Regions from separate parts of the Homo sapiens genome. Here regions 2, 3, 4, 5 and 6 are each linked to region 1. The links are contacts of gene promoters, found by promoter capture Hi-C in human tissues and cell types (Jung and others, 2019). All regions are on one chromosome and are shown on one strand. Each heading gives the region's core, a stretch centred on a gene start or on the middle of the fragment in contact. The rest is flanking DNA. Distances are from core to core; before and after follow the strand shown.

What was found. Contacts are between HindIII fragments. The study calls those that stand out against the background at their distance.
Region 2: a contact is called between the fragment with the promoter of P2RX7 here and the fragment with the promoter of CABP1 in region 1, in 5 of the 25 tissues and cell types used here (adrenal gland, bladder, dorsolateral prefrontal cortex and 2 more).
Region 3: a fragment that was not itself captured here is called in contact with the fragment with the promoter of CABP1 in region 1 in 4 of the 25 tissues and cell types used here (aorta, dorsolateral prefrontal cortex, lymphoblastoid cells and 1 more).
Region 4: the fragment with the promoter of SPPL3 here is called in contact with the fragment with the promoter of CABP1 in region 1 in 3 of the 25 tissues and cell types used here (pancreas, small bowel and stomach).
Region 5: a contact is called between the fragment with the promoter of OASL here and the fragment with the promoter of CABP1 in region 1, in 1 of the 25 tissues and cell types used here (neural progenitor cells).
Region 6: a fragment that was not itself captured here is called in contact with the fragment with the promoter of CABP1 in region 1 in 4 of the 25 tissues and cell types used here (H1 embryonic stem cells, adrenal gland, lymphoblastoid cells and 1 more).

The regions. Positions count from the first base shown.
Region 1 is chr12:120,638,165-120,642,047 of GRCh38, reverse strand. CABP1 (calcium binding protein 1) reads right to left here and starts at 1,422. Exons shown (of 6, transcript NM_001033677.2): 1 at 709-1,422. The coding sequence starts at 1,362. It overlaps CABP1-DT (CABP1 divergent transcript), which reads left to right and starts at 1,526. Exons shown (of 2, transcript NR_183426.1): 1 at 1,526-1,998. RefSeq lists silencers at 443-542, 763-932, 943-1,042, 1,263-1,562 and an enhancer at 3,034-3,535. The HindIII fragment of the contact is 37,846 bases long and covers 1-3,883 here.
Region 2 is chr12:121,131,217-121,135,408 of GRCh38, reverse strand. It overlaps P2RX7 (purinergic receptor P2X 7), which reads right to left and starts at 2,533. Exons shown (of 13, transcript NM_002562.6): 1 at 2,314-2,533. The coding sequence starts at 2,438. All of the region lies in intron 2 of LOC105370032 (a long non-coding RNA gene), which reads left to right. The HindIII fragment of the contact is 21,026 bases long and covers 1-4,192 here.
Region 3 is chr12:120,933,187-120,936,865 of GRCh38, reverse strand. No RefSeq gene overlaps it. Among named protein-coding and RNA genes, the nearest start is that of XLOC_009911, 30 kb to the right of the region's middle. The HindIII fragment of the contact is 5,842 bases long and covers 1-3,679 here.
Region 4 is chr12:120,901,774-120,905,981 of GRCh38, reverse strand. It overlaps SPPL3 (signal peptide peptidase like 3), which reads left to right and starts at 1,624. Exons shown (of 11, transcript NM_139015.5): 1 at 1,624-2,137. The coding sequence starts at 2,115. It overlaps XLOC_009911 (a long non-coding RNA gene), which reads right to left and starts at 1,287. Exons shown (of 2, transcript NR_131215.1): 1 at 1,210-1,287. RefSeq lists silencers at 1,425-1,784, 1,865-2,084, 2,225-2,274. The HindIII fragment of the contact is 15,749 bases long and covers 1-4,208 here.
Region 5 is chr12:121,036,801-121,040,613 of GRCh38, reverse strand. OASL (2'-5'-oligoadenylate synthetase like) reads left to right here and starts at 1,368. Exons shown (of 6, transcript NM_003733.4): 1 at 1,368-1,840. The coding sequence starts at 1,643. RefSeq lists enhancers at 1,204-1,623, 1,203-1,702, 1,703-2,204. The HindIII fragment of the contact is 11,669 bases long and covers 1,296-3,813 here.
Region 6 is chr12:121,094,865-121,098,846 of GRCh38, reverse strand. No RefSeq gene overlaps it. Among named protein-coding and RNA genes, the nearest start is that of P2RX7, 36 kb to the left of the region's middle. The HindIII fragment of the contact is 6,899 bases long and covers 1-3,982 here.

The DNA of each region.
Region 1 (3,883 bases), core at 173-2,672:
GGTGCCTGGGACTCTTGAGGGAAAGGCCTGAGGGAACCACTGATGACCTCTTTGTGGCCTTTCTCACCCTTCCAATGGCATCCCTAGAGTGACAGCCTCCTTAAACCACCCCAAAGTTCCAGTTTGAGCCACAGCTCTGCATGCCCCTCCATGCCTACCCAGACACCTCTTCTCTTTCCTCATATTTTTGGATCTCCTAACTTTTCTCAGGCCTTCAGGGACATGATAGGCAGTGGCCAGTGTCCCTCGCCCTCAAGTAATTCTGTGTTCTCTGAGGTCCCCTCTCTTGACCCCCAGACTCCAAACCGCTTGCTCTCCTGAGTCCCTCCCTGGCGGTACTGGCCAGAGGCCAGAGGAGTGGGTTTGGCGCCACCTGCTCGGAGCGCCCCTCCTTGACCCCCGCAAATCTCCAGGACGGTCGTAGAGGTCGCTCTCTTCCAGGACTGGCGGGTTCTGGCGGGTATGAGGGAGGCTAGCGGGGAGGGCCTTGCCCCAAGAGGCCCGGAGCGTGGACAGCGCACGGGGTGCTGAATCAGGCACGGGGAGGAGGAGTGCCGGCAAGGGCGCCGGCCCGGGGAGGACGAGGTGAGCCGAGGCGTGATCCGTGGGGGACCACGGGCCGCGGGAGGAGGCTGTGGACGCGCAACCGCGGCCGGCAGGGTCCCGAGCGCCTTTCCCGGGAGCGCTGACGGGAGGCGCGGCCCTTACCTGGCCAAAGGCGGAGCTGAGCATGGGGCGCAGCCGGTGGAGGAACGGGTCCGCCTCGGACGCGGCGGCTGGAACGGAGTCCCCGCGGCCCCGGGCTCGCAGAGAGCCCCGGAGGCCGAGCGCCGGGGACAGTCCCCGTTCCTCCCCATCCCGCCCGCGGGCCGGCGGCAGCGGCGACGACGGCGAAGGTCGGGACGCCGCGGCCGGCAGCGCCTCCCGGGGCCTGCAGTGCGCCTGGGGGAGCACACGCTGGCTCCCCCGCGCGCCCTCCTCTCGCGGCGCCGGCCGGCACAGGGGCCTCCGCGAACTGGGGTCCCCGGACGACTGCGGCGTCGCCGGGCAGGAGCCGGGTAGCCGGCGGCTAGGCAGCCCCGGGTCCCGGGCAGGGCCGTGGCGGGGAGCCCGGCTGCCCCCGCTCGCCGCCGCCGCCGCCGCCTTCAGCAGCGACGTCTTGGACTCGCTTTTGGCGATGTGCGAGCTCATCGCGGCGGGGCCCGCGCTCGCATGGCCCGGCGGGGGCGGCGCGGTGCGGCGCGGCGCGGGGCCCCCGGCGGGCAGAGAACGGGGCTCCCGGCGGGAGCCAAGCCCGAGGACGCGCTGGAGGCGGGCGCCGTCCCCCGGCCGCTTAAATGCGGCCCCGTCGCCGCCGCCCATGTGACAGCGCAGCCTCTACGCCCGGAGCCCGGAGCTCCCGGCGGCTGGCGGTGCAGATCTGGGGGCGCTGCCGGCTGTCCCCGGAGAGCCCACCCCCGGCTCCCTGGCGGCCCAGGTACCGCCGCGCCCCGCCCCTTGCCCCGCCCCGCCCTGGGGGAGCCCCGCTTCCGGGCGGCCCCTGGCGGCGAAGGGGACGCTGCAACGCGGAGCGGGAGCACGAGGAGGGAAGGGGCTTGGCAATGGGCCCCAAAGAGGCCGAGACCCCGGGAGTGCCGGCAGCGCTCTTTATCACGCCTGGAGGCTCCTGCAGAGCCCCGGAACCGCCCGAACCTCCAGAAATGCAGGCAGGGTGCACTCCCCAGGGGGTACAACTTTGGCAATGAGGACTACAGAGGTCCGGGGAGAACCGGAGACCCGAGGAGCATGAAGGCACTCTGTGACATCACTGCCTACAAACGCAGGGGCCGGAATGCAGTGACAGGACACTGCTGGGAGGAAAGTCTCCCAGCGCCTCCGTGTGGGGCTGCCTCCACTCCCAATACCGTGCGGGGGGACTAGGACGACCCTGGTAAGTCAGCCACAGGATATCAGTTCTCAGAATAGAAGAGAAGCCAGGTCTGGCAGCACCTGATGATGGTAAGTCTCAGGTAGGACCCATTTGCTCCCCCTCCAGCTCTTGTCCCCTCTTTCACCTTCCTGCCTTTCTAGATGCTACAGAAATTCCTGCTCTCGGTGGGCAGCCAGGGAGCGTCCCAGGCCTTATCTGAATCTCAAATCCCAGCTCTGCCACCTACCATCTGGGTAACTTGGGCAGGTGTCATCAACCTCTCTGAGCCTTGTTCTCCTCTTCTGTAAAATGCAGATGATAAGCATAACTAATTTCTTGGTAACAGCAGACGATACTATGCACACAAAAGGCCTAGCCCAGTGCTCGGACAGGGGACCATCCAGTTAAGCCAGTTCCCTTCCCCCTGCACATCGTGAGGCCCCATCTACCATTCTTCTTTAGTATCCGGTGCTTGAGCTTTGCGGGGGGCTGGAGGGGTTCCTCCCAGGCTCTCCCTGTTCTGGTCCCTGGCCCCAATGCCATCCACAGTCTTGTCACCGCTCGGCCTCATTAAAAGGATACACGAGGCCGGGCACAGTGGCTCGCACCTGTAATCCCAGCACTTTGGGAGGCCAAGACCGGCGGATCACTTGAGGTCAGGAGTTCGAGACCAGCCTGGCCAACATGGTGAAACCCTGTCTCTACTAAAAATACAAAAATTAGCCAGGCGTGGTGGTGGGCGCCTGTAATCCCAGCCACTTGTAGGCATGAGAATAACTTGAACCCGGGAAGTGAAAGTTGCAGTGAGCCGAGATTGGGTCACTACACTCCAGCCTGGGCAACAGAGTGAGACCCTGTCTCAAAAAAAAAAAAAAAAAAAAAAAAAAAGAAGGGTACACAAACAGATTGCCGATATTACACTTCACTCATGCCAAGAGTTCATCCTTCTCTGCACTGTCTGCTTCTTTACAGAGTGTTGCTCTGTCACCAGGCTGGAGTGCAGTGGCACGATCTCGGCTCACTGCAACCTCTGCCCCCCAGGTTCAAGCGATTCTCCTGCCTCAGCCTCCCGAGTAGCTGGGATTACAGGCACCCGCCACCACACCCAGCTAATTTTTTGTATTTTTAGTAGAGATGGGGTCTCACCATGTTAGCCAGGATGGTCTCGATCTCCTGACCTCATGATCTGCCCGCCTTGGCCTCCCAAAATGCTGGGATTACAGGCGTGAGCCACCGCGCTGGGCCCTGTGTGCCTCTTTTACTTATCCATAGGCAAGGAATTAAGGAAAATGGATGGGCTGGGAAAGCAACTGCCCAGAGGCTAAAGTAAACTAGGAAAGTGTGGCAAATTGTTCCCCAGATCAGCTACCCTTAAGGGACTGAATTGCCATATCAAAGCCACTCAGGTTCCTAAAGCCCAAATCCTGAAGCAGCCTGGGGCGTTGCAGCCCTGAAGGCTCATTGCAGGGTCCTCTGGGATATGCAGGGTGTAATGAGTCCACCCTTTGAGTTCGAGGTCAGTCAATGTCTTACCTGCTCCAGCCCTCAGAATAATCAGTGTTTGGCAGGATTAAAAACAAAGGCACATTCAATATAAATCACAGGAGATAAAGAACCTTATCAGAAACCCTCAGGAGCCAATGAGAGGCAGAGGACTGCTGGGTATTCTAAATCCCTGCTGTGCCACTGTTGGTAACCTTTCTGAAATGCCCTAAATATTTTTGGGCAAGACCTCGGTCACCAACTAGTTTTTGAAAAACTGAAGAATCTGATTATGTTACCTATGATTACTAGAGTAAATAAATAAAAATTATGTCCATGAAGCAAATGGATGAAACACCTTCACTCATATCCCAGATAATCCTGGATGTATGCCAGGATTCCATTTCATTTGTAAAGTGTATTAATTTGGTCACTTATTTGACAAATATGTATCCAACCAGGCACTGCAGTAGTCATCTTGGATACAAAGAT
Region 2 (4,192 bases), core at 1,284-3,783, 490 kb before region 1:
TACATACATGTATTTTATATACATATATACTATTATATAATCAAAAAAATTATTACTATTATTATTATTTTGAGATGGAGTCTTGCTCTGTCACCCAGGCTGGAGTGCAGTGGCTTGATCTTGGCTCACTGCAACCTCCGCCTCCGGGTTCAAGCGATTCTCCTGCCTCAGCCTCCCTAGTAGCTGGGATTACAGGTGTGCACCACCACTCCCCACTAATTTTTGTATTTTTAGTAGAGATGGGGTTTCACCATATTGGCCAGGCTGGTCTCAAACTCCTGACTTCGTGATCCACCCGCCTTGGCCTCCCAAAGTGTTGGGATTACAGGTGTGAGCCACCACTCCCAGACTTAAAAAGATTATTTTTAAAAATAGATACTAGTTATGGAGCTCTTATCCTATGTCAGTCATCATGATAAGGGCTGTTCATGCCTTTTTTTTTTGGTTAATTGCCACAACCCTATGAACAGATGCAGAAACTGAGGCTCAGAGAAGTTAATGACTTGGCCCAGAAGACATAGCCAGTACTATGAAATAAGTTACCCTAACTCTTAGTAAACTACACTGCCACTCTATAGATACAAATTGCCTTCATCATCATTATCAATCAGCACAGAGAATAAGAGGCACTCACCATCAGGGAAATTCAAATCACAACCACAATGAACTACCACTTCACACCCACTAGCATGGCTATAATAAAAAAGACAGACAATCAGCCGGGCGTGGCGGCTCATGCCTGTAATCCCAGCACTTTGGGAGGCCAAGGTGGGCGGATCACTTGAGGTCAGGAGTTTGAGACCAGCCTGGCCTACATGGCGAAACCTCATCTCTACTAAAAATACAAAAATTAGTGAGGAGTGGTGACGCACACCTGTAATCCCAGCTACTCATGAGGCTGAGGCAGGAGAATCGCTTGAACCGGGGAGGTGGAGGTTGCAGTGAGCCAAGATTGCGCCACTGCACTCCAGCCTGGGCAACAGAGCAAGACTTCATCTCAAAGACAAAAACAAAATGACAACAACAAAACCCAAAAAGACAGACGATAACAAGCGTTGGTGAGGATGTGGAGAAATTGGATCCCTCATACTCTGCTGATAGGAATGTAAAAAACTGCAGCTGCTGTGAAATTCAGCTCCACATTCCCCCCAAAGGTGAAACATAGTTAACATATGACCTAGCAATTTTTACTCTTAGGTACATATTCGAGAGAAAGGAGAATATATATCCACATAAAACCTTGTACACAAATGTTCATGTGGCATTATTCATGATAGCCAAAAAAGAGAAACAACCCCAATGTCCATCAATGGATGAATGGATAGAAAAAAGTGGTCTATCCATGCAATGGAGTACTACTCAGCCGTAAAAAGGAATGAAGTATCAGCCGGGTGCAATGGCTCACGCCTGTAATCCTGACACTTTGGGAGGCCGAGGCAGGCAGATCACTTGAGTCCAGGAGTTTGAGACCAGCCTGGACAAAATAGTGAGACCCCGTCTCTTTAAAAAAAAAAATTGAATGAAGTATCAACACATGCTACAACATGGATGAGCATTGAAAACACGCTAAGTGCCACAAAGGACCACATATTATGTGATTCCATTTATATGAAATGTCCAGAATCGGCAAATCCATAGAGGCAGAAAGGAAATTGATGGGTGGGAAGGAGGAGGAACAGTGTTGGAAATGATGGTGAAGGAGTGTGGGATTCCTTTTGAGTCGATTAAAATATTCTAAAATTGATTGTGGGGATGGTTGCACAACTCTGGGAATAATCTGAAAATCATTAAATGGTACCCTTTAAATGGGTCAATTGTATGGTGTATAAATTATATCTCAGTAAGTTTCTTTTAGAAGAAACAAAAACCAAAAAGCAGGGCCTTCCTGACGTTGGTGAGGACCTAAAGTTATAACACATTTTCAAGCCTGGTCCTATTCCTCCCAAGCATGGTGACTCAGATGCCAGCATGATCACCAGGCGTGCCCTGAGATCCTCGCCTCCTCCCTGGGGATCCAGGGTGTTGCCCTGCGCTTTCCTACCTTCCCCAGGCACGCCCTGCCCTGCGCGCCCTGGCGGGCCTGAAGTAGAGCAGAAAGGAATCCCGCTTGTCCTGTGGCTTCTCTCTGCTGCAGCCTGGCACCGTTTCCTCTTGCCTGCTGCTGCTTCCTCCCTCCCGCCCAGCTGGCTGTGAGAGCACGTCTCAGATTCGAAAACCATGTGAGATTCAGAATGTGCACCTGAAGCTGCCCGCTGGGGCTTTCTGTGCTGTCGGCCACTGCAGAGATCTGGGTCCTCCCCAGATCCCACTTACCAAACGTAGGAAAAGATGATCACGTGGAAGAACCACTTAATGGTGCCATAATTCATGCTCTGGATCCGAGTGACTTTGTTCGTCTCATACTGGAAAACATCACTGCAGCTGCAGCAGGCCGGCATGGTGACAGCCTCCCTCCCTGCGCGGAGCTGGACCAGAGCTCTACTCTTCCTGACAGGGCCACAGCAAGCCCCCTCCCAGTAACTGCAAAATGAAACGTACTGGTTTTTAGCAGGAGTCTTTAACTTCAAGCTCCTCCAATGACTGCAGAGTTGGGGCGGGCCCTGGCAGTGGCCCCACATGTGGCTGTGATAAACAAGAAGCGCCAAGTCCTACGGGCCTGGCTGGCAGATGACCTCACCCCAGCTGGCCTCCCCCAGATGCCTACACAAAGATGGTGTTCAGAGGATGGGCATTTTTAGAATTCTCCCTTTTCCCCCCTTTCCTTTCACTTTTTTGGTCTCATGTCTCTTGGGAGAAAGGGGCAGCCTTGCAAATGTCACAAGACTGGGAGCTTCCATTATGCCTCAGAAAAGGACTGAGATCTTTCCATTGCCTGAAGCCCCACTCAGAGATTGATTCATTCATTTCTACAACCCTTTATTCAGCCCCTGATGTATAGGAGCTCTGGGTAAATGAAGATCTCCCCCTCTTCTTCCACCGCCCCTTATAATACTCTGGTCTGCAGTTGGTGGGGGAAATCAGATTTGCAGGGGTAGGGGTGGTGGGGGTGGAGGGGCTTTATTTTTCTGCCAGATCTTTCATGCTTGACCCTCTGAGTTACTCTCCACCCTCCTCTGCACCCCGGCAGGTCGATCTATGACCTAGACCAATCAGCCAAAGATCACCAGGGACACAGTGGCAGTCCAACAAAGTTAGGTTTGTTGACCTATTCAGTGAGGGACACCACCCACCAGAAGAGCTACGCACATCACCAAACAAAGGAAAACAGCAATTTATTATAGGATTCCGAGGAAAGTGGAGTTGAGATAAAATCTAAATGAAGTCATGTTTTGATGGACTCAAAGCAAAACAGGTTTGTACAAAGCAGTCAACTTCAGTCTGGATTGCAAAGAGGACCCAGGGCCCTGTTTCCTAGGAAGCAACATAGCTAAGATACATGTCAAATGTGTCCAGAAAATCTTTATCTGAAGCTCTGCTCCTGAGTTGTAAATTGAGGCTGCTTCTCTGTGTCAAGATGACTTAAATCTTCCAGGCAAAATTGGAATATTTCAGTCTTAGTCATGTAATTTCAAACAGCAAAGTTTCTGAAGGTCTCTGATTTTAAAGGACAATGTTTCAGCAGTCACTCAAAGATGCAGGGTTGTATTATCACTTTACAGCTACAGAGAATTATTGTTCCCTGTTATCTTTACAGCTGGCTTGATCCCTTTCTGTTATTCCAGCCTGCTAAGTGGCCGGGTAGATTTTCAGTTTTTCAGTCTAAACTAATTGTACTTTCTCACACATACAAACTGCATCAGGGTTCCCCTCACCTTCTGGCTTCCAGTTCAGGAGACTGGAGAGCAGTGAGGATGGACGTGACTCCCTGGCCCTGCCCTTCTCAGTTGCATATAGGCAGGGCTTCTGGGCACCACTCCCTCCTTTAGTCCTGGGAGTGGTAAGGGCTCCCCACTCTTACCAGCCCCAGGAAGCTCACTATCTCCTATTGCTTTTTCTTAACTCTGTCCACACCTTTGTAAATGGTTCCATCATTAGTTACCCCACTTGAGTATGCCATTGCTTTCCTGCCGGGAATCTGAGTGATACGGTCATCTTCATCTGTAAAAAGAGGAGATTCACAGGTAAAGCCTGATGCTTAGAACATAGGCTCTAGGGGACTAATGGCCTGGCTTCCGATCCTGGCTTCACATCT
Region 3 (3,679 bases), core at 890-3,389, 290 kb before region 1:
GCTACTCGGGAGGCTGAGGCAGGAAAATTGCTTGAAGCTGGGAGGTGGAGGTTGCGGTGAGCTGAGATTGCACCATTGCACTCCAGCCTGGGCAACAAGCGCGAAACTCTGTCACAAAAAATAAATAAATAATTCACCAGCCTGGTGGTGCGTGCCTGTGATCCCAGCTACTCAGGAGGCTGAGACGCAGAGGTTGAGGCTGCAGTGAGCCGAGATCGCTCCACTGCACTCCAGCCTGGGCGACAGAGTGAGATGCTGTCTCAAAAAAAAAAAAAAAAGAGAGAGAGAGAGAGAGAGAAAGAAGGCCTCCCTGAACCCTGATTTTCCCTGGAGACCTGAAGGATGAAGAGGAGTTAAAGGCAGAAGGGAATAAGGAGCCGGAGAAGCATTCCAAGCAGAAGGCCGGCACTTGCAGAGGGAGGGAGGCAGGAAGGAGGATTGCTCATTTGAGGAACTGAGAGCCAGCCAGTGAAGAAGAAGTGGGGCTGGAGCTGGGGTGGAGATTGTGCTGGGTCTTCAACTTTATCCTCAGGGCACTGGGGAGCCACTGGTGGTTTAGAACACAGGAATGACATGACCTGACTTTCAAAGGACTCCTCTGGCTGCTGTGAGGAGGATGGACCCTGTGTGGGTTAAGGGCAGAGGCTGAGAGTCCAGTGAGGAGGTTAACGGTCTCATCCAGGCAAGCAGTAACCATGTTCACACAAAAACTTATATATGAAAGCTCATAGCAGCTTTATAGTAGTTCAAAAGTGGAAACAACCCAAATGTCCATCCACCGAGGGAACAGAATGTGGCCTATCTGTACAATAGAATCATTCTGACCATAACAAGCAATGCAGCTGGGCACAGTGGCTCATGCCTGTAATCCCAGCACTTTGGGAGGCCAATGTGGGTGGATCACTTGAGGCCAGGAGTTCAAGATCAGCCTGGCCAACCTGGTAAAATCTCATCTCTACTAAAAATACAAACATTAGCCGGGTGTGGTGGCACAGGCCTGTAATCCCAGCTACTCGGGAGGCTGAAGCATGAGAATTGCTTAAGCCTAGGAGGCGGAGGTTGCAGTGAGCTGAGATCGTGCCACTGCACTCCAGCCTGGGCAACAGAGCAAGAGTCTGTCTCAAAAAAAAAAAAAAAAAAAAAAAAAAAAAAGAGGAATGCAGTACTGACACACTGCAACATGGATGAACCTTGAAAACATTCTGCAGAGTGAAAGAAGCCAGACACAGAAGACTGTAAATCGTATGATTCCATTTATATGCAATGTCCAGAATAGGCATCTCCATAGAGATAGAAATTAGATTAGATGTTGACAAGGGCTTGAGGTTGGGGGTGGTGAGAGAATGGGGAATGACGGTGAATGGGTGTGGGGTTTCTTTGGGGAAGATAAAAATGGTTTGGAAGTAGATTATGAAAGTGGTTGGGCAAGTTGATAGCTACACTAAAAACCACTGAATTGCACACTTTAAAAGGGTGAATTTTATAGTTTGTGAACTATATCTCAATCAAAAAAGGAGGAGGAGAAGGAAGAAGAAAAGAAGAAGAGGCTGGGCACGGTGGCTCATGCCTGTAATCCTGGCACTTTGGGAGGCTGAGGCAGGCAGATCACTTGAGACCAAGAGTTCAAGACCAGCCTGGCCAACATAGTGAAACCCCATCTCTACTAAAAATATAAAAATGAGCCAGCTGTAGTGGTGCACACTTGTAATCCCAGCTACTTGGGAGGCTGAGGCAGAAGAATCACTTGAACCTGAGAAGCGGAGGTTGCAGTGAGCCGAGATCACACCACCGCACTCCAGCCTGAACAGAGCGAGACTTTGTCTCATAAATAAGTAAACAAATGAATAAATGTGAGTAACATCCTATATTAGTTTCCTACTGCTGCTGTAGAAATTACCACAAATATTGACTTTACACAAGCTTATTCTCATAGTTGCGGAGGTCATGAATCTGACATCGGTTTTATAGGGCTAGTTCCCTGTGAGGGCTCTGAGGGAAGAATGTGTCCTTGCCTTTTTCATCTTCTAGAGGACCACCTGCATTCCTTGGCTCACATTCCCTTCATCGATCACTACAACCTCTTGTTTCCATCGTCAAATCTGCTACCGCTCACTCTGGTGTGCCCACCTCTTCCAAGGACCTGTGTGATTATATTGGGCTAGATAATCCAGGATAATCTCCTCATCTCAAAAATATTAATTTGATGCATCTACAAAGTCTCCTTTCCTATAATCATAGGTTCTAGAGTTCTAGAGATTAGGACATGGACATCTTTTTTTTTTTTTTGAGACAGAGTTTTGCTCTTGTTGCGCAGGCTGGAGTGCAATGGCGCGATCTTGGCTCAACGCAACCTCCACCTCACGGGTTCAAGAAATTCTCCTGCCTCAGCTTCCTGAGTAGCTGGGATTACAGGCATGTGCCACCACGGCCAGCTGATTTTGTATTTTTAGTAGAGAGGGGGTTTCTCCATGTTGGTCAGGCTGGTCTTGAACTCCCAACCTCAGGTGATCCCGCCACCTTGGCTTCCCAAAGTGCTGGGATTACAGGTGTGAGCCTGCTCCCGGCAGGACCTGGACATCTTTTAGGGGTTATTATTCAGCCTACCACACACTTACCAGATTTAAAATTCTATGATGTACACTTACCTACAGTATCTCATTTAGATACTTATGAGGTGTTATCATTCCTATTTAATGAATGAGAACGCAGGTCTAGAAAGCTTCATTGCTTAGCCACAGTCATATAGTCAAAGAACTAGAAACTCAAACCGGAGTATATGGCCCTAGAGACCATGTAACAGCACTACACACCACTTCTCCTCCACCAGGCTGCCTGTAAATCACGGGCCTTTGGCCTCTCATTTTCTTGTACAACTCAAAAAAAAAAAAAAAGAAGAGGAAGAAGAAGAGGAAGAGGAGGAGGAGGAGGAGGAGTAGGCGGTGGCAGCGCCATGGCTCAAGCCTGTAATCCCAGCACTTTGGGAGGCCAAGGCAGGAGGATTGCTTGACCCCAGGGGTTTGAGACCAGCCTGGGCAACATGACGAGACTTTGTCTCTACTAAAAACAAAAACAAAAAAAACTTGGCTGGATGCAGTGGCACATGCCTGTAGTTCAACTAGTTGGGAGGCTGAGGCAAGAGGATTGCTTGAGCTCAGAAATTCAAGGCTGCAGTGAGCTATGATTGTACCACATCACTGCACTCCAGCCTGGGTGACAGAGCAAGACCCTGTCTCTCTGACAGAGGAGAGAGAGAGAAAGAGAGAGAGAGAAGGAATGAATTGACCTAAGAAGGAAAATGGCTGAATTCGGGATATATTTTGGATGTGGGTTACTTAGGGGACACAGTGGGGCAGGAATTGGTCCTATGTGAGTCCCTGCATCCCTCAAGTGTGCCACTGGAAGAAAAGCAGAAGGAGCAGCAAGTATGGAGCCCATGTCAGGGTGTCACCAGCTCCCCAGTGTGAGCCACTCACAGAACGCAAAGGCCATGCAGTGCTGGGATTCAGAAAGTATCAGATTTCAAGGCCTGTGTGTCCTTGGGTGAGTAGCTTGGCCTCTCTGGGCCTCTGGATGGACTGGGGGCAGCGAGTCTATAAAGCCCTGAGCTGCCTTTCCTGCATTCTCAGCACATTATTGGAACCTGAGTGCATCGTGACAGCCCGGTGTGCTGACAGCTGGC
Region 4 (4,208 bases), core at 375-2,874, 260 kb before region 1:
TGGGGGTGGAGGGGTGTCCAGGAGGGTTAGTGTATCTGTTGCCCAGGCATGTTTCTAAATTCTGAAGCTGCACTGGTTAATCATTTTTATTCATGAACACAGTAACTGGCAAGGAGGCTTAGCTGGGCCCTCAAAGTCTGGCCTCAGTGCACCTTCTCAGTATATTTTCTCAACACTCCAGCACAAATCACCCATCCCACTCTCGGATTCAAGCTCACCAGGAATTGGGCCTTACTTCATGCCATTCTTTCTTTCTAGAATGCCTTTTCTTTTTTTTTTTTCTTTTTCTTTTTCTTTTTCTTTTTTTTTTTTTGAGACAGAGTCTCGCTGTTGCCCAGGCTGGAGTGCAGTGGCGCAATCTCGGCTCACTGCAAGCTCTGCCTCCGGGGTTCACGCCATTCTCCTGCCTCAACCTCCTGAGTAGCTGGGATTACAGGCGTCCACCACCACGCCCGGCTAATTTTTTGTATTTTTAGTAGAGACAGGGTTTCACCGTGTTAACCAGGATGGTCCCGATCTCCTGACCTCATGATCCACCCACCTCGGCCTCCCAAAGTGCTGGGACTACAGGCGTGAGCCACCGCGCCCGGCCAAAAGAATGACTTTTCTTTGATAAGCCTCTCACCCTTTCAGACGGCCTCATCCACTCCTGGGGAAGCATTCCGCAGTACCTGGGGCCTCAATTAATCTCTCTCTTCTCTCTCCATCTAAGCTCCAGATTCACTTTGTTGGTCTCTGGTCTAGCTCTACCGTGTTTATTTCTGTGCCGGTTTCCAGACCTCCAAATGGACGGTTTCCTGAGCCTTCTGCCCTTGCTGTTCCCTCTGCCAGGAACTCTTTTCCTGTGGATCTTTGCAAGGCCAGCTCTCTGTCATCATTCAATATCAGCTCAAATGTCACCTCCTAAGCGAGGCCTTCCTTGACCACCCTATCTAAAGTAACCCACACCTCTGCTCACTCTCTGTCCCCTCACCTTGTGTTACAAAATGTGTTTTTGTAAAACTTAGCAGCATCTGAAATTATCTTATTTGTGGGCTTGGACTATGTCTCTTCCTTTAGAATGTAAGCTCTAGGAAGGCAGAGTGAGTTGACACATGGTTGGCACCCAACAAATATCTGTTGATTGATTCTGTGAAGGCAAGCGTGGGGTATTCGACTTGGTGCCGGGCCTGGGCGCAATAAAGGTTGGCTGCCTGGAATATTTGCTACCTGAATGAATGAACCAAGGAACATACGAACGAAGGAATGCAGCCCTCTGCCTGTTGACTGACAGGTTGACTGACAGTTGGGGGGCCCGTGGCCAGCAGACTGTTGACTGACGGTTGACAGCTGAGTGGCAGCCAACAGACGCGCATCGGGGTTCCCGATTGGCTGGTGCAGCAGCCCCTCGGAGAGGGGCGGAAGAGGGTACCCGAGGCGACATCTCCGCGTGGGGAGGGGGGCGGCACCAGGCAGCGGGAGGCGGCCCAACTGCTCTGGCTGTGCGAGCAGCAGCCGCCTAGAACCCAGGAGCCGACGTCTCTGCGCATGGGCCCGGCTCGAGGGGCGGGGCGCGCATCACGTGAGCGTGTTTTGGGCACGTGACCCGCGCGGGGCCAAGGCTCGCCCCCGCCCCCGCCCCTCCTCCCCTCGGCGGGTGTGATCGAGTGGCCTCGCCTCATCGCCTAGCGCCCCCCTCAGTCGCCGCCGCCTCCGCCCGCCGGCCATGTCCCCCGGCCGCCGCCGCCGCCGCCCGAGCGCGGCGCTCCCGCGGCCCCGCGCGCAGTGAGCGCGGGCCCGTCTTGCCGTTCGCCCGCCCCAGGGCCCCCTTGTTCTCCGCGCCGCCGCCGCCGCCATGTTGGGTTTGGAGCTGCAGCGGAGCCGCCGCCGCCGCCGCGGGTGAGGGAGGCCGAGAGCGGAGCCCGCCCCGCCCCGGGGCCCAGGGAGCGGGGCCGCTTCGGAGCCCGGCCTCTCCCCGCCAGCCGCCTTCCCGGCCCGCCGTGCAGCCAGCGAGCCAGCGAGCGAGCAAGCAAGCAAGCACCGGACCCCGGCCGCGCCTTCAGCTACGGCCCGAGCGAGCCCGCCGCCGCCGGGCCCGGCCACAGCCTGCAGCGGAGCCCACGAGAGGCAGCGCCATGGCGGAGCAGACCTACTCGTGGTGAGTGCGGGGCTCCGGGAGGCCGGGAGGCGGCAAGGGTGGGGGTCGGGGCGCCGGCGCGGCCCGCCGAGGGGAAGAGGAGGAAGAACAGGTGCGTGTCGTGGGGGGGGGGCGCGGGTTGGGGTGCACGCCCCCCTCTTCCCCACCGGAGGGGGCGGCTGGCGCGCACGGAGGGCGGTGAGTGGCCGGGGACCTGGCGTCCGAGAAGGGGAATGGAGGAGGAGGCAGCGGCGGATGTCATCTGGCTATGGGCGGAGCAGGTGATGGAGAAGGGGAGCATGACCCCGGGGGTGGGAATCCCACGGATGGGAAGTTGAATCCGACAGGCACCCCGGAACTGACTCGTGGGGGTGTTTCCTGGGCAGGAGGACTCGAAGGGGTGGAGAGAGGCAGGCCAGGGCAAAGGTGGGCCGCTGGGCTGAGAGGAAGCTCTAGTGAGAACAGGTGATAGAGGCAGAACTTCTAAGTTGGGAGAGTGGAGCGGCCGCCGCTTGGCTCTGGGACAGGGAGCGCAGGGAGAGTTGGTGAGGTGGGCAGAGGCCCGGGAGTGAGGGGAGGAAAACTGCGGGGGTAGAGTCCACGAACCTTGGAGGGGAGTCACTGGTGAAGAGGTTGGAAGAGGAGCCTGAAGAACCTGTTTCCTTTTCCTTCTGGAAAAGGAATTCGTTGGTGACAGTGGGGCATGGGCAGAGTCTTTGTAAGGGTTGGTACTATTATTTTCAGAGGAATGGCGCCCAGGGCCAAGTGTGGAGGTGGAGGACCTGCAAGTTAAGTTCATTTCTGTGGGGCTTTTAAAGTTAGTAAGTAGCTCGTTAAGGGCCGAGAAGCGAGAAGCTACTGTGTAGTTTATGGGGTGACAACCTACATATCCGGAGAAGGGAGTGCCAGGGTTTGGGGGAAGGAACATGAGGGGTCTCCCTTTAGCATGTAGAGGTGGGATATTTGCAGGACGGGTTGAAGGAATGATGGCAGTATCCATGAAGAGTGGAAATCGGGTAGTGAGAAGGAAGTCATAGCTGGAGAGTGAGGAAGCAAGAAATGGCATGATCGTAGGAGTGGGGGACCTGATTGCAATTTAGAGAAATGGTTTGAAGATGGTTTACTCTTGAAGCAAATGTGGTTTGGGACAGAACTGTAGACATTCCCTTCTTAGAAAAGAGCATAATAGAATGGGACGAGCATGCCGTGTGGAGTTGGAAGACCTATTTCGGAGGTCCGGTTTGCCACCAACTTGCTTTGTTGATACGACATGGTAGTGAGTTCTTCGGTCCTTTTTCCTTACCTATAAAATAGAGGGAATTACCTTTTCCACAGCCTGTAAGGATTAAGTGAGTACATTTAGAAAGCACTTGGCAAACTGTGAAGTGCCACAGATCTTACTACATTAATTATAATTATCCTAGAGAAACATCTAAGAAATGGGTAATATCAGAAAATAAGGAATGGTTTTAGGTAGAAGACTTTGAGTGGATTATTTATAGTGTTAGAGGTTATAAGTCAGTAACTCATTGAGTCTTCACATAAGAGAAAGGGAGTTGGGGATTGAAGATGATAATTCTTAAGAGAACTTCATTGATGTATGTGCAATCTCAAGAAGAAGGTAACTGAGAGACAAAGTAACCCTAAAGGAAGAATTAAAATCTTGGTGAACACGTGCTCTAAAAAGAGGTTTAAGCTAATTTCATAGTTTTGCGTGACAGCTGCCTTTCAGTAGCAGGTCGTAGGGAACACAAGATTACAATTTCAGCTTCCTTCTGGACAGAGTAAGAAATGAAGGTAAAGGTGTTTCTGTCATGCCTTGTGGTTACTCATCTTGAGCTTCTCATACTCTGGCCCTAATGGCTGTGGCCCTGAGAGTCCTAATGGCTGCTTTGCTGTTTTTACTGTGCTGTACAGAGGCCCTGGATGGTTGAAAGAATAGAAAACTCAGTGGTCAAGAAATGGGGAAAATGAAAATGTTTTACTAGGTAGGTTGGACACACACGACCTCTCTCTGACATTAGTTGGCTCTATTAAGGAGGGATTACTTTGTGAAGTTTGACAATTTACAAATTTATTCTACTAAAATACT
Region 5 (3,813 bases), core at 119-2,618, 400 kb before region 1:
GATCAGGAGTTCAAGACCAGCCTGGGCAACATGGTGAAACACTGTCCCTACTAAAAATACAAAAAGTTAGCCAGGCGCGGTGGCGGGCTCCTGTAATCCCAGCTCCTTGGGAGGCTGAGGCACAAGAATCGCCTGAACCTGGGAGGCAGAGGTTGCAGTGAGCCGAGATTGTGTCACTGAACTCCAGCCTGGGCGAGACAGTGAGACTCCATCTCAAAAATAAACAAATAAATAAAAATAAAATTAAAATGTGGAAGTTGCCAGAGTAAAAACATTTAAACGCTGGCTGAAATCACCAAGGGAGTAAGTCTAGAACAAGAAGAGAAAAGGACCCAGGACTAAGCCCTGGAGCACTTAATATTATTCAGAGTTTGGGAAGTTGCAGGTGTCCAGCTATGTTGCCCAGGCTGGTCTTGAACTCCTGGCCTCAAGTGATCCTCTCACCTTGGCCTCCCAAAGTGCTGGGACTACAAGCATGAGCCACCATGCCCAGCCCGGATCCCCAGTCTTTAAGATTCCTCTCAAGCAGGTGTCTGCTAACACCAAATGAAACTCATCTGCCGGCTTCATGTTTTCATGCTTTTTTCCTACTTAACTCATCGCACTGGACTTTTGCAGTCTCTTTTTTCTGTGTCTCCTCCACCGTTCTGGGAGTCCCCTTGGAACAGGAACCTCATCTTATTTTGTCTTCTTGGCTCAATGCATGAACTTCTTGGTTCAGTGCGTGAATCATAATACCTGTTAAACCCACTCTATGGGCCGGGCGCGGTGGCTCACGCTGTAATCCTAGCACTGTGGGAGGCCGAGGTGGGCGGATCATTTGAGGTCAGGAGTTTGAGACCAGCCTGACCAAAATGGTGAGACCCCCGTCTCTACTAAAAATACAAAAAAAAAATTAGCCGGGCGTGGTGGCACATGTCTGTAGTCCCAGCTACTAGGGAGGCTGAGGCAGGAGAATCGCTTGAACCCGTGAGGCAGAGGTTGTAGTGAGCTGAGATTGCACCACTGCACTCCAGCCTGGGCAACAGAGCAAGACCCGGCCAAAAAAAAAAAAAAACAAAAAAACAAAAAAACCCACTCTATGAATAGTGAGGGTCAAAGAGGTTAGAGTCTGGCACAGGTAGACTAGAATTCCCAGTCTGTTCTCTTGGGCTCCAGATTCTCACTCCACCACCTGAACACTAGTGAGTCCCTTCCGTTCCCAAGCCTCAATTTCCTTAGACAGATGTAAGCAGTTGAATTGACTAACAACTATCCAACCCCAACCTACTGGGCAAGTTGCCTCCTTTGGGGTCAAACACTATCCAACTTCAGTTTCCCAACGTCATAAAGGAGAACTCTAAAAGTTGAGAATCGAAACTGATGACAGATTGACTAGACGGCCAGCCTGTTAAGGTGGCCCCAGATATTCCAGCCTCAGCCCAGAGTCCTCCTGTGCCCCTACTGCAGCAAGGGTGTCTCCAAGAAGGGGGACCTGGAGTCAGCCCGTCACACCTGGTTTCCTCTCTGCTAGGGTCCCTCCTCCCACAGAGCACTGGAGGGCAGCTGAGGAGGAGCTACCTTAAAAAAGGAGGTGTGTGCCAGGGAGCTGGGTAGGAGCCTGGCTATATATCTGCCCAGCAGCGGTACTCTCGGGACAGAGATGGCACTGATGCAGGAACTGTATAGCACACCAGCCTCCAGGCTGGACTCCTTCGTGGCTCAGTGGCTGCAGCCCCACCGGGAGTGGAAGGAAGAGGTGCTAGACGCTGTGCGGACCGTGGAGGAGTTTCTGAGGCAGGAGCATTTCCAGGGGAAGCGTGGGCTGGACCAGGATGTGCGGGTGCTGAAGGTAGTCAAGGTAAGACTGGGCTCCTCCAGCCCCCACGCAAGACAAAACCCAGTATCAGAGTCCACGTCCCTGGGGATGCTGGGGACCCCTGTCCTCCTTATCCCTAGCCCATGCTGATGACATCTCAGAATACCCCATCCCACCTAGCTGTCTACACCCCACTGCACCACTGCCTTGAGTAGAATGAGTCTAGTAATAATAGCTCACATTTGGGGGCTCACTGGACTAACCTCTTAACATACACTATCTCTAATTCTTGCACTCTGTGAGATAGGTACTATTCTTTGCCCAGTTTACAGATTAGCAAATGGAGGCTCAGAACCAATACAATGCGAGGTCCTTGGTTGGATCCTAGTGTGAATGAACCATCTGTAAAATATAGTTTGGGGACAACTGGCCTAGATATCAGATAGTACATATATCTGATATGGGAAATCATTGTTGATTTTGTTAGGTGTAACAGTAGTTTTGTGGTTATCAGAAGGTTGTCTTTTGTTTGGACACGAACACTGAAGTATTTTAGGGACAAAGTTCCTTGGTGCCTATAATTTACTTTAACGTGGCTTAGATTAAGCACATGTAGCCAGGAATTTAGACTTGTTGAATCAACTAGTTGGGTATATGAGTGTTAGTTGTATCATCTATTTTTCTATGTGTTTTAACTTTTTGATAATAAAATGACTTTTTTTTTTTTTAGAGACAGGGTCTCGCTCTGTCACCCAGGCTGGAGTGCAGTGGCACAATCACCACTCACTGTAGCCTCAATCTCCCTGAGCTCAGGTGATCCTCAGCCTCCTAAATAGCTTGGGATTACAGGCATGCACCACCATGCTCAGCTAATTTTTGTATTTTTTGTAGAGATAGGGTTTCACCAATGTTGCCCATGCTGGTCTCGAACTCCTGGGATCAAGAATATGCCCACCTTGGCCTCCCAAAGTGCTGGGATTACAGGTGTGAGCCACCATGTCTGGCCGGCCAATAAAATGATTTTTGTTTTTGTTTTTTTTTTTTTGAGACAGAGTCTTGCTCTGTCACCAGGCTGGAGTGCAGTGGCACGATCTCAGCTCACTGCAACCTCTGCCTCCCAGGTTCAAGCAATTCCCCTGCCTCAGCCTCCCAAGTAGCTGGGACGACAGCGCCCACCACCACGCCCGGCTAATTTTTTGTATTTTAGTAGAGACAGGGTTTCACCGTGTTGGCTAGGATGGTCTCGATCTCCTGACCTCATGATCTGCCCTCCTCGGCCTCCCAAAGTGCTGGGATTACAGTGAGCCACTGCACTCGGCCTAAAATGATTTTTTAATGGAGGCTCAGAGAGGTGAGGTGACTTGCCCAAGGTCACACAGTGTTGAAGCTGGGATTTGAACTTGACTCAAGGGACCCAAGCCCCCCTCACTGAGATTTTCCCCCAAGCCCTTCCTCCAGCTGTTTCATGCCACCGCCTGTGCTAGCTAAGATCAAAATTCAAGAGGGTCGGAGCTAGAAAGACTTTGGAGAATCAGACAGTCTCACCAATGACTCACTTAAAAAATTAAGTAAACCGAGGCACAGAGAGGGTGAGAGATACCCCAAGGTCACACAGCGAGTTGGTGGCAAAGGCAAGACTAGAATTAGGACCCCTGACTCCCAGCCCAGTGCTCAAGTTCTCTCTCTAGGGGCAACCAACTCACAGAGGGATCTAGAAGCCCTGGGCCCCTATCCGTTCTTTGCACCTATCCCCAGCATATGAAGCCTGAGGCCATACAATTTATAAGTGAGAAACCACAAATTTTGATATTAGACAGACTCTTCGCTTCTTCCTTTACCAGCTGTGTGGTTTTGACCTTCCCACTCTTCTTTCTCAAACCCACATTCTTTTCATCTGTGATTGGGGCATCATCATCATCTCTCCCTCACCAAGCCAGTGGTGCAATGCAGGCTGAATGATTCATGCACGATAAATGCTCAGAAACAGAAGCATCATTATAATTCTTGCCAAGCTT
Region 6 (3,982 bases), core at 492-2,991, 460 kb before region 1:
GTAGAGTTCAGTAGTAAGCAAAACAGCATGTGCCTTCGGCTCCTGGAGCAGAGGATCCCTGTCTCTCAGTGCACGCACCATGCCTGGCATGGAACTGGCCTCGGACTCCACTTGCAGCCTTAATAACTCCATTCTTTGGATTTTGCTGTCTTATATTTGCCTTTCGTAGAAGGCTGAGAAGTAAAAAAGAAAAATACCACTGGACTCACCTTCATGAACTAGTTTCAAAAACTTTCTGCTCACAGAGTAAAAACACTTCATATTTAGATCAAGGAAATGAATTAAACCTAATCAGTTTAAAATCACCCTCACTAGACCACACTTTTTTCTTTTGAGATGGAGTCTCTGTCGCCCAAGCTGGAGTGCAGTGGCGCGATCACTGCAACCTTCACCTCCCAGGCTCAAGCTATTCTCCCGCCTCAGCCTCCAGAGTAGTTGGGACTACAGGCGTACACCACCACAATCTATTTTTGTATTTTTAATAGAGATGGAGTTTCACCATGTTGGCCATGCCGGTCTCAAACTCCTGACCTCAGGTGATCCACCCACCTCAGCCTCCCAAAGTGTTGGGATTACAGGCCTGAGCCACTGCACCCGGCCTACAACAACTGCTTTGAAAGGGCTTTTTCTCTATGATTAGGAAGATCCATGTTTAGAAGCTTGGTAAATAAATCCAAAACCTCTTCCCAGACAATGAATTGACCCTTCGATGTCCTATGTTTTTTTTTTTTTTTTACCTTTGCTAGTCACTGTATCAAAAGTAAAAAATATTTTTATAATCTTACTATTTTTCTTACATCACAACTTACATAAAATGAGATGCACTTCTTTTTAAAAAGTTTTCAAAAGCATTTTGTTGTGGTTTTAGATGATTAATAGGTGATCAGTTTGAAGAGTGAGAATGAAAAAACCAGCACATGTGGGGGAAGGCTGGGGAAGGGATTTGATTATATATTTAAGTGACTGAATTCAGTTCTCTCTCATTTCCTGGACAATAGTTCTGTTTTTTTCAGATTATTCTGATCATTTCAAATTAAAGCGAAGACACATGATCAGTTCTCAAGTCCTATGTTCTCATTAGGAAAAATAGAAAAACATGCAACTCTAGCTGAATATGGTGGAAAATATTTTGTTAGAGGTCCTTTCATAGGGCCTTTGTCCAGATGTTTGGACCGAGGCCCCCGAGGGCATGGAGAGCCAGCCTGAAGGACAGCGTAGGGTGTGCCTGCAGGGAAGGTCGTAGCTCACCAGTGACAGAAGAGGCAGACTCCCCTTCTTCCAGGCCTTGGTCTTCTACATCCTAGCTCAGTGGTCATTTATTTGTCAGGCCCTTCATTTTACTGATTTAATAACGTGTTTAAGGCAGGGTGCGGTGGCTCACGCCTGTAATCCCAGCACTTTGGGAGGCCGAGGTGGGTGGATCATCTGAGGTCAGGAGTTCGAGACCAGCCTGACCAACATGGAGAAACCCATCTCTACTAAAAAAAAAAAAAAAAAAAAAAAATACCCCGACGTGGTGGCGCATGCCTGTAATCCCAGCTACTTGGGAGGCTGAGGCAAGAGAATAACTTGAACCCATGAGGTGGAGGTTGCAGTGAGCTGAGATCATGCCATTGCACTCGAGCCTGGGCAACAAGAGTGAAATTCCGACTCAATAATAATAATAATAATAATAATAATAATAACAACAATAATAATAATGTGTTTAAATAATTTATCTCATATCTCTGCACCTTCACTCCATTTCTTTTCAAAGAAACAGAGAAAAACAAAAACAAAATGTCATAGTTCTGGGCCGGGCACGGTGGCTCACACCTGTAATCCCAGCACTTCGGAAGGCTGAGGTGGGTGGGTCATTTGAGGTCAGGAGTTTGAGACCAGCCTGGCCAACACGGTGAAACTCCACCTCTACTAAAAATGCAAAAATTAGCCGTGCGTGGTGGTGGGCATCTGTAGTTCCAGCTGCTTGGGAGGCTGAGGCAGGAGAATCGCTGAGGGAGCCCGGGAGGTGGAGGTTGCAGTGAGCTGAGATTGTGCCACTGCACTCCAGCCTGGGCAACAGAGCAAGACTCTGTCTAAAAAAAAAAAAATAAAAGTCACAGTTCTACTTGACCCAGCAGCAGGCTTTAAAACCAGAGGCTTTAATTCTCCCAATTTCCTCATTTGTCAAAATGCAGAAGCCAATCTAAGTAAATCACCTAGAACGGCAGCAAGCTACGTAAGTTCGGGGCTGAAATGTGATATTTCTTCTGAATCTCTCTTTTCTTACAACATCAGAGAAATGGGTAATAAATAGCACCAAACCCAGGGGCTCCACATTTATTCCTCTTTCCGGAGGAAATAAATTCTAGCCACCATATTTCTCAATAGGAACCGATATGTAAGGAGAATGAATTTATTCATTCATGAGTCATGTATTCAATCCTGATAAAAATACTTTATTCTGGTCTTCAATAGCAAATATGACCGGAGAGCCAGAGGGTCAGTGGTCCTGCTCTGAGCTGTGCAGGTGGGGCTGTCTCTGGGTAGTGGGAGGGTCGGGTGGGTGTTTCTGACCTGGGCGTCTTTGCCCAGAGGAGCAGAAGTGAACACACGCCCTCCCACTGGGCTCTTCTGCTGACGTGGGTTGGTAGGACGGTTATGGCTCAGCTTAGGGTCCGCAGCTGGGCAATGAGGAGACTGGAGGGGCCTTTCTCAGGTAGTGGCGTCTGGTAATCAGCAGATGGCGCCCGAGGTCGCTGGGCCCGCCCCGCGTGCGGGTCTTTCTGGTTGACTCCCCAGGCTCTTGCGTGGGAACTCACCACTGAGCACTGAACGCAGTTCCTCAGTCCGAGACCTCCTCACTCTCGCAGGACGCACAGTTGCACACACAAGTCCCTCACCTGTCACGACCCACGCTCTTACATACTCTCCCACTCCCACCCACACCCCCTCTCTCAGATGTGTGATCCAGGATTTCCTCTCCACCCACAGCCGCAGACGCCCCCACGGTTCGTGCAAATGTGCACACTCGGTGCAGCAGATCCCCGCCTCCTGCACACGTGCGCGTTTTTCCAGCCTCGCACTTTATCTCACACGTTTTCTCACCCAGAGACCCCATTTCAGACACACACACCCTCTCAGCCTTTTCTCTTGCCTCCCAACCCCTTAAAACGGAAATCCTTTATTTCCTCCGGAATTTGCTCACTTCGTGAAATGCCGGTCTGTCTTCTGGCGGATCCTATAGGGCAGCCCTTTCCTGCCCCTTGGTTCCAACAGCCCCTTTCATGCCAGTTTTTGTCACGTGCCTCTTACCATGCTGAAGTGAAATTGACCCAGCCATCACACAATGCCCTAACTCAGGGGTCTGCAAACAATGGCCCCAGAAAGCTGTTTGTTTTCCCCCAGCTTTATCTGAATATGCTTGAAAAGTAAACATTGTATATATTTAAAGTGGGCAACCGGATATTTAATACACATTGTGAAATGATCACCGCAAACTAAAACACCCACCATCTTACATTGTTACCACTTTCTTTCTTTTTTGGAGGTGGGGTGGTTAAGGATCTTAAGATCTACTCTCTTAAGAAATTTCAGGTATACAACAGAGTGTTGTTACACGCTGTACGTTACATCTCCAGAACTTACTCATCTTGTATAACTGACACTTTATACCCATTAAACAACACCCCGTTTTCTCCAACCCTCAGTCCCTGGCAACGACTATTCTACTCTACTCTCTGCTTCTATGAGTTTGGTTAGTTTAGATTCCACATATAAGTGAGATCATGCAGTATTTATTTATTTATTTATTTATTTATTTTTCTTGATGTGGAGTCTCGCTCTGTCGCCCAGGCTGGAGTGCAGTGGTGCCATCTTGGCTCACTGCGACCTCTGCCTCCTGGGTTCAAGCGATTCTGCCTCAGCCTCCCGAGTAGCTGGGACTACAGGCGTGCACCACCACAATCTATTTTTGTATCTTTAATAGAGATGGAGTTTCACC